Linked DNA regions of Homo sapiens: region 1 is linked to region 2. The links are contacts of gene promoters, found by promoter capture Hi-C in blood cells and fetal thymus (Javierre and others, 2016). All regions are on one chromosome and are shown on one strand. Each heading gives the region's core, a stretch centred on a gene start or on the middle of the fragment in contact. The rest is flanking DNA. Distances are from core to core; before and after follow the strand shown.

The links. The method cuts DNA at HindIII sites, captures the fragments that hold promoters and counts their contacts. A CHiCAGO score of 5 or more calls a contact.
Region 1: a fragment that was not itself captured here is called in contact with the fragment with the promoter of EN2 in region 2 in 1 of 17 cell types (total B cells); the score reaches 6.5 in total B cells.

Annotation. Positions count from the first base shown.
Region 1 is chr7:154,940,043-154,945,829 of GRCh38, forward strand. PAXIP1 (PAX interacting protein 1) reads right to left here. Exons shown (of 21, transcript NM_007349.4): 21 at 3,648-4,122. The coding sequence ends at 4,107. PAXIP1-AS2 (PAXIP1 antisense RNA 2) reads left to right here. Exons shown (of 8, transcript NR_024476.1): 3 at 3,985-4,578. Among named protein-coding and RNA genes, the nearest start is that of PAXIP1-AS2, 14 kb to the left of the region's middle. The HindIII fragment of the contact is 212 bases long and covers 2,975-3,186 here.
Region 2 is chr7:155,455,502-155,461,978 of GRCh38, forward strand. It overlaps EN2 (engrailed homeobox 2), which reads left to right and starts at 2,628. Exons shown (of 2, transcript NM_001427.4): 1 at 2,628-3,561. The coding sequence starts at 2,877. It overlaps EN2-DT (EN2 divergent transcript), which reads right to left and starts at 1,617. Exons shown (of 3, transcript NR_186580.1): 1 at 1,489-1,617. RefSeq lists an enhancer at 1,290-2,281. The HindIII fragment of the contact is 14,368 bases long and covers 1-6,477 here.

The sequences.
Region 1 (5,787 bases), core at 1,831-4,330, 520 kb before region 2:
TGTTTTACAGTTCTATAGGTCAGAAGTCTGGTGGAGTCTCATTGGAGTAAAATCACTCTTAGTTCCTTGCATCTGTAGGACTAAGGTCCCATTTTCCAAACCACTTTCCTGTCTTCCTCTTCCACTGTGAGGGGTTCACGTGATTCACTCGGGCCTTCCTGGATAATTCTGCCTTCCTCTTCCACTGTGAGGGGTTCACATGGCTCGCTTGGGCCTTCCTGGATAATGCAGGCTCATCGCCCCATCTCAAGGTCCTCAACCTTAATCACACCTGCAAAGTATCTTTTGCCACTAAGCTAACATAGAAGCCACAGGTTCTGGGGATTAGGTCTAGGACAGGGATTCCCCAGCCCCCAGGTCACGTACCAGTACGAGTCCACGGCCTATTAGGAACTGGGCTGCACAGCAGCTGAGAGGTGGGCGAGTGAGCATTACCGCCTGAGCTCTGCCTCGTATCAGATGACTGGCAGCATTAGATTCTCATGGGAGCACGAACTCTATTGTGAACTGCACATGCCAAGCATCTGGGTTGCGTACTTCTTATGAGAATCTAATGCCTGAAGATCTGAGGTTGAACAGTTTCATCCTGAAACATACCCTAAACCCCTACCCAATCTATGGGAAAATTATCTTCCATGAAACCACTCCCTGGTGCCAAAAAGGTAAGGGGCTGCTGGTCTAGGGTATCTTTGGGGGGCTATAATTCCACCTACCACAGATAACATAGGTGAAGAAGGCCTCAATCTGTCTCTGAGGCTTCATTAACGCAGAGAGAAACAGAGTGCGAACAAGTAACCACTCACCTCTAAGACATCTATTCCATTGTATCAGAGAGGGCTGAGGACACAAAGAGGAGGAAACTAGAAAGAATGTTTATAAAGATCAGGAAGGCCTTACAGTCTAAATGAGGGGAAAGCTTGCCAGATAGGAATGGGAGTTCTTCTAATAGGAAGAGATAGCATATAAAGTGAGAGAGGCCTGTGAAGTGTTTGGCAAGCTTGGGTAATCACAACTGATTCCATGTGACTAATGGGAGTAAGGGGGTGGGATGGTGACATTACAAGAGATTAAGATGCTGGCCGTGGTGGCACGCACCTGTAGTCCCAGCTGTTTGGAAGGCTGAGGCACGAGAATCGCTTGGGCCCGGGAGGTGGAAGTTGCAGTGAGCCAAGATCATGCCACTGCACTCCAGCTAGCACTAGAGTGAGACTCGATCTCAAAAAAAAAAAAAAAAAGAAAAAGATGTGAAACATCTCATCTTGGACTCTTTCTTTTTAGCATTAATATGAGAAACAGAATCTTATTTCAGGAAAATTACTCCTGGAACAGTACAGAGGTCAACCTGAAAGGAAAGCGACTGGAGAAAAGGAGACAAATGTAAAACCTTGCTAACATTTACAAGAGGAAAAGAAATGAACACAGTGAGCGTGGGGAGAGGTAGATATGAACAGCTCTGCAGTTGGAGGAACAAACCTTGGAAATAAGGAGAGGTGACCTGTGTTTAGCTGCACCCCTAGAGGGTGGAATCGGCTGAGGAGCAAGCCCAGCAACACTGAAGTTCAGAGATGGAGCGGCTGGGCGGTGGGCGAGAGAAACTCTTCGGGGACACATGTGGTTCATTTCAGGAGGTAGCTAAACTTTCTACAAAGTTAGTACGTAATTACACACTTATTTTTTAATTCAACAAAGTAATTTGGGAGAGCTTCATGGGGAGCAGCACTGAGGTTTAAAGAGCTGAGGATACAATTATCTTCATTTAACTTTCTATGCTAAAATATTTCTTAAAAATAAAGTTGTGCAGCTATTACTATTCAAATATTTCCTTAAATTACCAAATATTTGCTAGATTGACATATGTTGTTTAACTTTTCCTAATGAGACTAAACTCCTAGAGCTAGGATACGCAGTATTTCTTCCAAGTTTCCTCTCAATACCTAGCAGATAGATTAAAAACACACTTTTTGTGAGCTATCAGGTAGATACTTTTAATTATCCTACACAAAGAAACAATCTTGGGATGATTTGGATGGATTATCTATGTCTTCATCATTGGCATTCACATTGCTTGCCATTCTTACTTGCCAGTGTTACAGAATTCAGGGTATACTGAGGTGGCAGCTCGGTGATGGACAGCTGTTCATCTTCTCAATGATCAGCCACCCCTGGTCACTGCACGCTGGAAAAGTACCTAGTGCAAGGGAAGGACCTCCATTTTTTAATTGCACTTTATGTTAACTTCAAAACTGGCATTAATTCAGTTATTGGAAGACACTTAACTATCTTTTGAATAATTTGAGTATATAAACATACATAATATCCTTTTTCAACTCTAAGTGGTGTGAAATCTAAACAGATCAAGTACTTCCAATGAAAATTTCAGAATTGAGATGTTGTCTAAGTGTAAAATATACACTGGATTTTAAAGACTTGGCATCCCTCAAACAGTAAAAATATCTCAGTAATTTCTAAAAATATTGATTACTTCTGGCAGAAGCAATATTTGGATGTATTGTCTACATATTAAAACTAATTTTAAAACATTTATTGTAGCTACTAAAAATGTTTAAATTACACATTGTTCCCATTATATTTCTATTAGATGACACCGAGCCAGATGAAAATAGGATTAAATGAGATTTTCATGTAAGAAATAATTTGTCCGATCTAATCATTTTTTTCTAAGAAGTATTTACTTGAAATCTTTTTATTTTTATATGTTCATCTAAGTCCCTCTTAGTCACCAAATCAATGCTTAACAGCTGTGCAAGCCAGTTGGCTTTAGACAGCTCCTGGAGTTTTTAAGGATCATTTCTTGGCAGCTTTAGAAAAAAAAGCACTAATTGAAAGGTTAATCAAATCAGTCATATTTGTATGTTGGTTATATAAACACCCTGTCTCCACCAAAGATTAAACAGACGCATTATACTCTACCCAGAAGGCCCATTTATTCTGTAATGATTGTCACTTGCCTTCAAGCTTCTAAGTAGTAGGGAAGTACTTTGAATACTTTGCAAATGAAAACTCTATTCTGATTTATGAAATGCTTCCACACTGCCAGGATTCTACAGAATCTAAAATATTTTATAGCAACACCAATTCTACCTGTGGTACACAAGGGGAAAAGGTCAGTTCTACATCTACTCAAAGATAAGTCAGTATCTAAGTTTATTTAAGCACAAAAATATAAGCTTAAAAATAGACATATTTTGAGGCACAATGTTGGTTAAAAAACAGCTCTGAATGTCTGCGACAGCACTGGTCAGCACGATCTAAAGATATTAGCAGTTACTGCCCTGCTCATCTTTAATAAACAGGCGGTCTCCTACCATTTTATCACACCTATGATCCAACAAGACGTGTACTGCAACAGGGTCTGGAAAGAAGCAGGATGGATGCAAGTTCCGTAGCGTCACTGGTTCTCACTGGTTGCGCCTGTGCTTAGTGATTGCAAAATAATCTGAATCCACCCCTGCCTGGGATGGAGTTTATTACGGTGACAAAAAAAATGGCTGGCTTCTAGAAATTATTTCTTGAGGTAAAAATTGACTGGAAAATATTTTGTCTTGAAATTACTTAAAATGTGATCCGGTTTGATGCAAATTATAAGTTATGCAAAAAATGTGGAATAATAAAGGATTACTCAATTCTAAGTTCAAAAGTACATTTATTTAAAATGTGGGCAAGATATCAATATAAAAGAAAACAGAGTATAAGAAATAAAAATAATCAAAGTACAAAACATTTCAAATCTTTAACATCCATAATTTAGAGATAGCAAGGTCTTTATTTACACCATTTTATTTCTAGTTGAAGTCCCGTAACAGTTTTGTGAAAACATTTAAAAACCTGGCAAATGAATCATAAAACCTAATGTGGGCTCTTAAAGTCATATAATACAAAACATAATTTATGTTTCCTCAGAATAAAATTGCACATCTTAAAAAGATGCAGTATATTTATTATATCTGTCTTCCTGCTTCACAGTCTGATCCCCCAGGAAAGCAGCTGGAAAACAAGAGCATGTGAAGGAAGCGCAGCAGCTCCTCGCCAGCCAGACAGCCAGCCCCGCACCGCAGGAGTCGACATGCACGGCAGCCTAGACGCCATCAGTTAAACTTATATGTAGGCTTGTTGAGGAAAACGACTTTCAAACACAAGGCAAAAGAAAAACATGAAACCAAGGGTTCCAACATTCATCATCCAGTTTCAGAGACACCCTTGAAGGAATGCTACAGCCTCTTTCTTACCCATTCAAACCAGTCGCTCTGCTGCATACCCACATCACAGGAGGCCCTCAGCCCCGACACACAGGCTCACTCAGCCCGGGGACATCAGCACCTGTGCCAGCTCCGCAAGGTATCCACCATGCGGCCAGAACTGAGGCCCAGCAATAGCTGAAATGTCCTTTAAATTAACATGTACAACACACAACCCCCAAGAGCTGACATCCCCAAAGCCCCACCACAAATAGCTGACTCCTACTTATACCTGCAGGAGCAGGTAGTGACCTCTGCAATTCTAAACCGTCCACTTTGGGCAAAATTCATCAAGCTATGGATATGAAAAAAGGCCCCCAAGGTAATACTCATAAGTCTCCTGTATGACTTTTAAAGCAATTTCTTCTGAAAGTAAATGTAGTGTAGAACAGGCTTTCACAAATACAAACATGAATGTTAGGAAAAAGTCTGGAAAAAATGCAAGAGTACATGTTGTATAAAAACCAAATGCTTATAGCATATCTGTAAAAATTTAACAGGCCTCTTATCATTCCTATCAGTAGCTCCTACAATAATTTTCTAATAGATGGCGGTATGGAATACAGCAAGCTCTGGTATGAATGGTAAGAGCGTTTCTGCACCAAGCCTCATTCCAACTAGACAGGCTATTTATTTATGGCTAAACATGACATTGGATTCTGGGACTGAGGCAAATTTTACTTCTTTTTTTTTTTTTTTTTTTTTAAAGACAGAGTTTCGCTCTTGTTGCCCAGGCTGTAGTGCAATGGCGCGATATTGGCTCACTGCAACCCCTGCCTCCCAGGTTCAAGTGATTCTCCTGCCTCACCAAGTAGCTGTGATTACAGGTACCCGCCACCATGGCCAGCTAATTTTTTCTATTTTTAGTAGAGCCAGGGTTTCACCATGTTGGCCAGGCTGGTCTCGAACTCCTGATCTCAGGTGATCCACCTGTCTTGGCCTCCCGTGCTGGGATTATAGGCATGAGCCACCACGTCCGGCCAAATTTTACTTCTTAAAAGTGCTTTTCTCTCAGTGATATCAAGGTCTTCTGTCTACTATTATAACCATAAGCTCTTTAGCGTTAAGAGGAAAATGTTTGATAAATGTAATTAACTGGATGAATGTCAGTGTATTTAAATGTAAATATACTTAAATGTAATTACCTGGATGAAACAGGCACACACGAAGAAAAAAAAACTCGGCAAGGATGGGTATCATTCTGACCTCTGCGCCTTACTGAAGCAGTCCTATCCCAAACACAAAATTCCCCTGCTTAAGGAAAGGTCCACTGAGGTTGACACTGGTCAGAGGTGGCAGAGGCTCCCACCCTCACAGAGAGGAGGAGCTCCAGCCTCATTGCAGGAGGCCCAGGGAGAAGTCCTGAGAACAGCCCTGAGAGAAGGTGCTCTGCAATGGGAAACGGAAGTGGAAACAGAATTTTCCCATAAGGACCTGTAAGGCATGTTTTGCTTCACTGATAGGCTGTTCCTACATTAAAATAATAATTCAGAGATTTTTAATAAGGAATTCAAATAACAGATGATGAGCT
Region 2 (6,477 bases), core at 1,378-3,877:
CGCCTAATTGGCTTTCATGGGACAGGTGGAGCCATTAACCTGGGATGGTTTTGCAGGAACCAAAGAGCTCAGGGCCCCTCCTCCCCCCAATATCATGTTCAGGAGACCCAGAGTCGTTGGACCCTCCCTTTCCTGACTGGTGATCATCAGAGTTTCCAGAGTTGCAGAAAATTCTCCCCCCAAAAAACCAAGTAAGCGTCAATAAGACTTCCCACAAACTCTCACCAGCCCTATTTTCCCGGGGGGCAGGTAGACTGTGGGGTTTGATTTTTTGAGACTCGGGGAGGACCCCTGGCAGATGTGTGCCTAGCCAGAACATTTGGTAAGGACTCCTCCAATGAAGAAAAAGTGGAGGAATCCAGCCCCAGCGAGAAGAGGCTTCCCCACCCTGCCCTAGACACACCGGACAGAGGGCACACTCTGACCAGAGCCACGTCCAGTGGCCAGGAGGCCAGCCCAGCACCTCCTCCCCCACCATTCCCGTCCTGGGTGGGGGGGTAATTTTCCTGGGAGCAGCTGTGGGAACTGTCGTTTCTCATCCCAGCCCAGCCAGCACTCTGAAGCCTGCAGGGGAAGGACAGCACGTGGGATGGACACTGGGGAAGGAGCTTCGCAAGGCCAGGGTGCAACCTTCAGGCCCCAGGTGGCCTGGCAGGCCACGCTGCCTCGGAGATGCTTGCCAGACTCCCCAAGTTCACTCAGGGCCTGGCAGCAACCTGCTGGCTGCCTCTGCGGGGGTCTGGGTTGCTGAGCACGGTGCAGCTGCCCAGGGCCAATCAGCCCTAGGGTGTCCGTGCCAGGCTGCGGCCTCCCCGCCTCCCCCGCACTGAGGGTACTCATGGCGTGCAAATGCTCCCGCACCCCCAGAGCTGCCCTATCGGATGTTTCCAGGAATTCACACATTTCCATAAAAATGCATTTTAAATGATGGACAGGCGAGCCTGGGGTAACAACGGGTGTTTGGTGGGTAGACAAGAGCAAATGGGAAGGAGCCCGAGGGAGGAGGGGGAAGAGAAGAGGAAACAGAACTTCCAGTTGGACATTCTGACAACAGCTGGAAGGAAAGTCTAGAAAAGATGAAGAGAGAGGAGGGGAGAAACCAACTGGGGCTCCCACCCTTGCCGTTGGATTCCTAATTCTCGTTTCAAATGGGCCCTGCTCTCCGGCAAAATTAGTTTAAAGGATTTTAAAACAAAGAAAACGAGATGACCGGTCTGGGAGCTCCTCAATCAGAGTAGAGAAGTTAGAGGGGGGCGGGCGACTTGGTTTTGAAGTCTTAGCTGAACAGTCACCCCTCCTCTCCTTGGCAAAAAGGATTCCTTTAGAACCTCCGAGGCTCCTGGATTTCTCCCTTCGCAAATGGAGCCGCATACTGCATTCCCCCGCTCTTTCGGATCGCTAAGCATGTTTCATGAGGGTCGCTGTCCCCGGGTGGAATGCGGCCGTATGCACGCGCCTCCCTGCACACGCACACACACGCACACTTACAATAAGTGTCTGCAGGAGGAGTGTCCTGCGCGCCAGCTCTGCGTTTAAGACAGGAAGCTGCCGGGTTACCGAGTCAAATGGGAGTGACACTATTCCTCTCCATCAGCAAGGAAAGCGGACCACAAAAGTCCCTTTGTATCTCGGCAGCTCATTTAATATTATTTATGCATTTTGTGCAAGGAATTGTGGGATTTCGCCCCACGGTAAACAATATGGAAATCTTAAAAATAGCGATCTTCCTGTGCGTGTCCACCTACGCGCCCCGGGGTGACCTGGCGGGGCTGTCGCCGGGTGACTCACACCCCTGAACCGCGAAGCGACAGGGAAAGCGCGGGCGAGCGCAGGAGACGCGGTCGGGGGTCTCTCCGGGTTCCTGGGCTCCCGCACCCGGAGCGGGGGACGCGGCCGCTTTAAGGGGAGGAGGGGCGGCGGGCTGCTCCTGTCACCCAGCGGCGGCCGGAGCGTCACGTGGGCGCGCGGCGCCGCGGCCATTGGCCCGAGGCACGTGTCCAGGAGACCGGCCTGCGACGTCACTCGAGGGGGCTCTGTTAAAAATAAGAACAAAAATCCAGAGTGAAAGTGTCTCAGGTTGCGCCGAGTGGCCTGGAAATTTCCGAGCCCGCGCGGAGGCCGAGGCGGCGAGGGCGGCGGACGGCCGGGGAGCGCGGGCGGCCCAGCCCGGCCCGGCCGGGCCCTGGCCTCGCGTCTCTCACCCATGCGACTCGGGCCGCGGAGCTCTGCGGGGCTCGGCGGGGGCGCGGCCGCACGCCGGTGGGGCGCCCCGGCCCGCAGCGGGGCGGCGGCCGCGAGGAGGGGGCCTCCATGTGCGTGCGGGCGGTGGCGGGCGCGCTGACCGCGGGCGCCCGGCACCCTCGAGGGCCGGCTAGGGCGTGCGGGCGGGGACGGCCGGGCGGCGGCGGCGGCCGGAGCCGGCCCGGGCGGGCGTGAGCGCCGGGGAACGCGCTGCCTGCATGCGCGCAGCTCTCGCCCCGGGCGGCCCAGGCGGCGGCGCCGGAGCCCGAGGCGGCCGGACGCGGAGAGGAGCGGGGAGCCCGGGAGGCGGCCCGCGTCCCCGCCGGACCACTGCGACTGTCTAGACCCCGGCTGCGCGGCGAAGTCGAGGACTTGGCTCTGTTGAATCTCTCATCGTCTGGGCGAGCGGGGCGGCTCGTGGTGTTTCTAACCCAGTTCGTGGATTCAAAGGTGGCTCCGCGCCGAGCGCGGCCGGCGACTTGTAGGACCTCAGCCCTGGCCGCGGCCGCCGCGCACGCCCTCGGAAGACTCGGCGGGGTGGGGGCGCGGGGGTCTCCGTGTGCGCCGCGGGAGGGCCGAAGGCTGATTTGGAAGGGCGTCCCCGGAGAACCAGTGTGGGATTTACTGTGAACAGCATGGAGGAGAATGACCCCAAGCCTGGCGAAGCAGCGGCGGCGGTGGAGGGACAGCGGCAGCCGGAATCCAGCCCCGGCGGCGGCTCGGGCGGCGGCGGCGGTAGCAGCCCGGGCGAAGCGGACACCGGGCGCCGGCGGGCTCTGATGCTGCCCGCGGTCCTGCAGGCGCCCGGCAACCACCAGCACCCGCACCGCATCACCAACTTCTTCATCGACAACATCCTGCGGCCCGAGTTCGGCCGGCGAAAGGACGCGGGGACCTGCTGTGCGGGCGCGGGAGGAGGAAGGGGCGGCGGAGCCGGCGGCGAAGGCGGCGCGAGCGGTGCGGAGGGAGGCGGCGGCGCGGGCGGCTCGGAGCAGCTCTTGGGCTCGGGCTCCCGAGAGCCCCGGCAGAACCCGCCATGTGCGCCCGGCGCGGGCGGGCCGCTCCCAGCCGCCGGCAGCGACTCTCCGGGTGACGGGGAAGGCGGCTCCAAGACGCTCTCGCTGCACGGTGGCGCCAAGAAAGGCGGCGACCCCGGCGGCCCCCTGGACGGGTCGCTCAAGGCCCGCGGCTTGGGCGGCGGCGACCTGTCGGTGAGCTCGGACTCGGACAGCTCGCAAGCCGGCGCCAACCTGGGCGCGCAGCCCATGCTCTGGCCGGCGTGGGTCTACTGTACGCGCTACTCGGACCGGCCTTCTTCAGGTGAGCCCGCGGGGACCACGCGTCCCGGCTCGCCGCGGGGAGGCCCGCGGAGCTGGGGGGCGGTGCTGGCGCGGGAACTTACCGGGAGGAAAACATCTCGAACCTCCCCCGCGCACACGCACAAAGACTCACGCGACATTGTGTGAAGCTGACGCCGGCCCGGGCAGCGGCCAGGAGTCCAGCGGCAGGACTGATTCGCTAGGGGGTACAGACTTCTTAGGACCGCAGAAGGGACCTTCTTTCTTTCTCTGTCTCTCTCTCTCCTTCCTCTCTCCCTGTCTCCCCTCTCTGTCTTCCACCCCGCCTTGGCGCATCTCTTCCCAGCCCCTAGCCCATGTCTCCCCCACTGTAGTTTTTTTTGGTGGGAACGTGGTGGCTGGAAGATGGGCCCGGAAGTGCACACTCTCATCCCCTTCCCTACGATCTTCCAACTCAGGCCAGGCCGGGGACGCATGCCCCAGCCCACCCCAGACTTGTCCTACCATCCGGTTATCCCGGCTGTGCTCGGGGAAGAAAAGGCGAGGCCCTTTGCCGCTCTGCCTTCTGCCCCTCGGGCCTGCGCTGACCGGTGGGACTCAGGAGGATGCACACAGGGAAGGAGGAAAATAAAGGCGCCCTTTCCCCTTGGCTCCACTTTGTTTGCCAGCGCCAGCCCGCAGTGGTGGGGCTCAGCCCCCTTCCTGCACACAGCGAGGACAAGGGAGGCAGCCGTCCCTCCCGGCACCTGCCATCCCCAAATAGAAAGGACCTTCTCTCAGGGTTTCCTGGGGGCTGCTGATGGGAAAGAGGCAGCATTCGCAGGGGCCCTGCAGAGATGCTGGATATATTTTTTCATAGATCTGCGATTTTAAAAAACTAAGTCCATGTCCTTGTAGAAATCATCAACTGCATTCCATGCGGGTCTGCGGCTGGGAACCGCCATTAGAAGTGGACTGTTTGACCCCGAGCTGGCAGCGGATCCCCGCTGCCCCCAAACCCTCAACTATTTTGCGGGGGTCATTTGCCCAGATCACAGCAGGAGTGAGCCAACCCTTGGGCCGCCATCCCGCAGAACTATGCGTGCATATTTCTGATGAAATTCAGATTTCTCAGCTAGATCTGAAATTTGCTCCATTGTTCTCGTCTTCCTCCTTTGTTAATATTTAATTAACATACAGGCTCACAATGCCGGGCGAGGAGACTCGGCCGGGCTTTGTGCGGCGCGGGAGTTCGCTGAGCCAGCCCCCAACGGCCCGGGAGCTGGGCAGCACCGCCCGGCCCGGCCTGGCCCGGCCCAGCTCAGCCCAGCCCAAGTCGCCTATCTTCATGGGCTTTAAAATATCCCTGCAAGATAATGTTTCTGTTCTTTGGTTTCTCCGAAAGAAAGGGGAGAGAGAGTTTTCTTGGGGAGGTTTGATTCTGTTTCTGAGACTCCTAAGTATTTGTCTTTTGAAAGAAAATCAAGAAAAAAACCTAAAAATTATTATTTTAGGGAAATTTATTGCCATAAAATGGTGTCCTTTTGCGGGCTGCTTCATGAGTGCATTAACAAGAGCCCCAGGACCAGAAGAGTTTGGGGGTAGAGTTCTGGGGAAGGGAGTGGTTGGAAACCCAGACAGAGATGGGCTCTGGGAGCAGGAGGCTGGGGCCTCTCCTGGAGCCTTGTGCCCCATCCCCCACCACCGTTCCGGAGGGCCAACCCCATCTCCAAATCTGCACCTACCCCTACCAAAGCCAGGCCCACTGGCCTGGAGCCCTGGGCGTGAGCAAGACAGGCACTGAGTGTGTACGTGTGCATGGGGTGGGTGCCCAAGTATAGGGTGTGTGCTCTCATGGGTGGTGAGCCTGCCTATGGGTTGCTTTAAAAGCTGCCCTTGGTGCTCCTGAGGTGGTGCCCACAGATCCTCTTTCTCCAGGCCTGTCTCCTGGAGAGAGCACAAGACTCACTTGGCCATGAGGGAGTGCTTGGCATTCACCCTGGGCCTCCAGTTCGTCCCCCACCTCTTGCTGGGCACAGCCCCAGCACCCTAGTTGACTCTCCTGACCTGGGCAGGGTGCAGTCCCAGGGCCTCCAAGGAGATCCACATTCCTCTTCTCCTCAGTGTGCCCGGCAGCTCTCCGGCCCTGAAGGGTGGGGGGCCCCCAGCCTTCTCCAGCCACAGGGACCTGTGATGAAGCTGGGGCCAGATGCTCCCTAAAGCCGATTCATACACCGCACAAATTGAAACCCAGAGGCGAGGTCACCACTCCCTGCCAGTGGCCTTGCCCCCTTCTTCCCCCACAGGGAACGCCAGGGGGTTGAGCCTCTTATCACCAAAAAGAAACTGATGACACTTCCCTCCTTCTGCTCTCCTCCCTCTGCCCTTTCCCCATGGATAGCAGGTCCTAGAAGCCTTACAGCGACCCTGTCCAAAACCTGGGGCAGGTCCACAGGGAGAAGGCCAGGTCAGGTTCATAAGTCTGAATCCCAGTTGGGAGGCACAGTGGGGAGGGTCAGAAGTGGACCTGGACAAGGTCAGCTGGGCTACCCTGCTGCCCACAGTGAAGCAGTCCCATGTCTGGGGAAAGGGTGGTGCAGTCAACACCCTTGTAGAGCCAGGTCCCCTCTCCTGGACAGGAAACCTGGGAGATTTCCAGTGGGTGAAGGACTCACCCACTGTGAGTAGCTCAGTGCCCCTCCCCACCAAGGAGGGAAGTACATGCACTGACTCTTCCTTAAAGGAATGAACTTGGGTCCACAGAGCCCTTGGCTGGGAGTCATAGAGGAGCTTGGGTGGAGGCAGACACTCTGGGCCCCTCCTGTCCTCAGGGCCCACCTGCCCCTGATTCCCACAGCCCTTGGCACCCTGTGGGGTATCCCCATGAGGGTCCCCATCATAGCCCTCAGGGCGCCTCCTGCTTCTGTGACCGCCCTGCAGCCTTTCCCAGTCTTCTCTC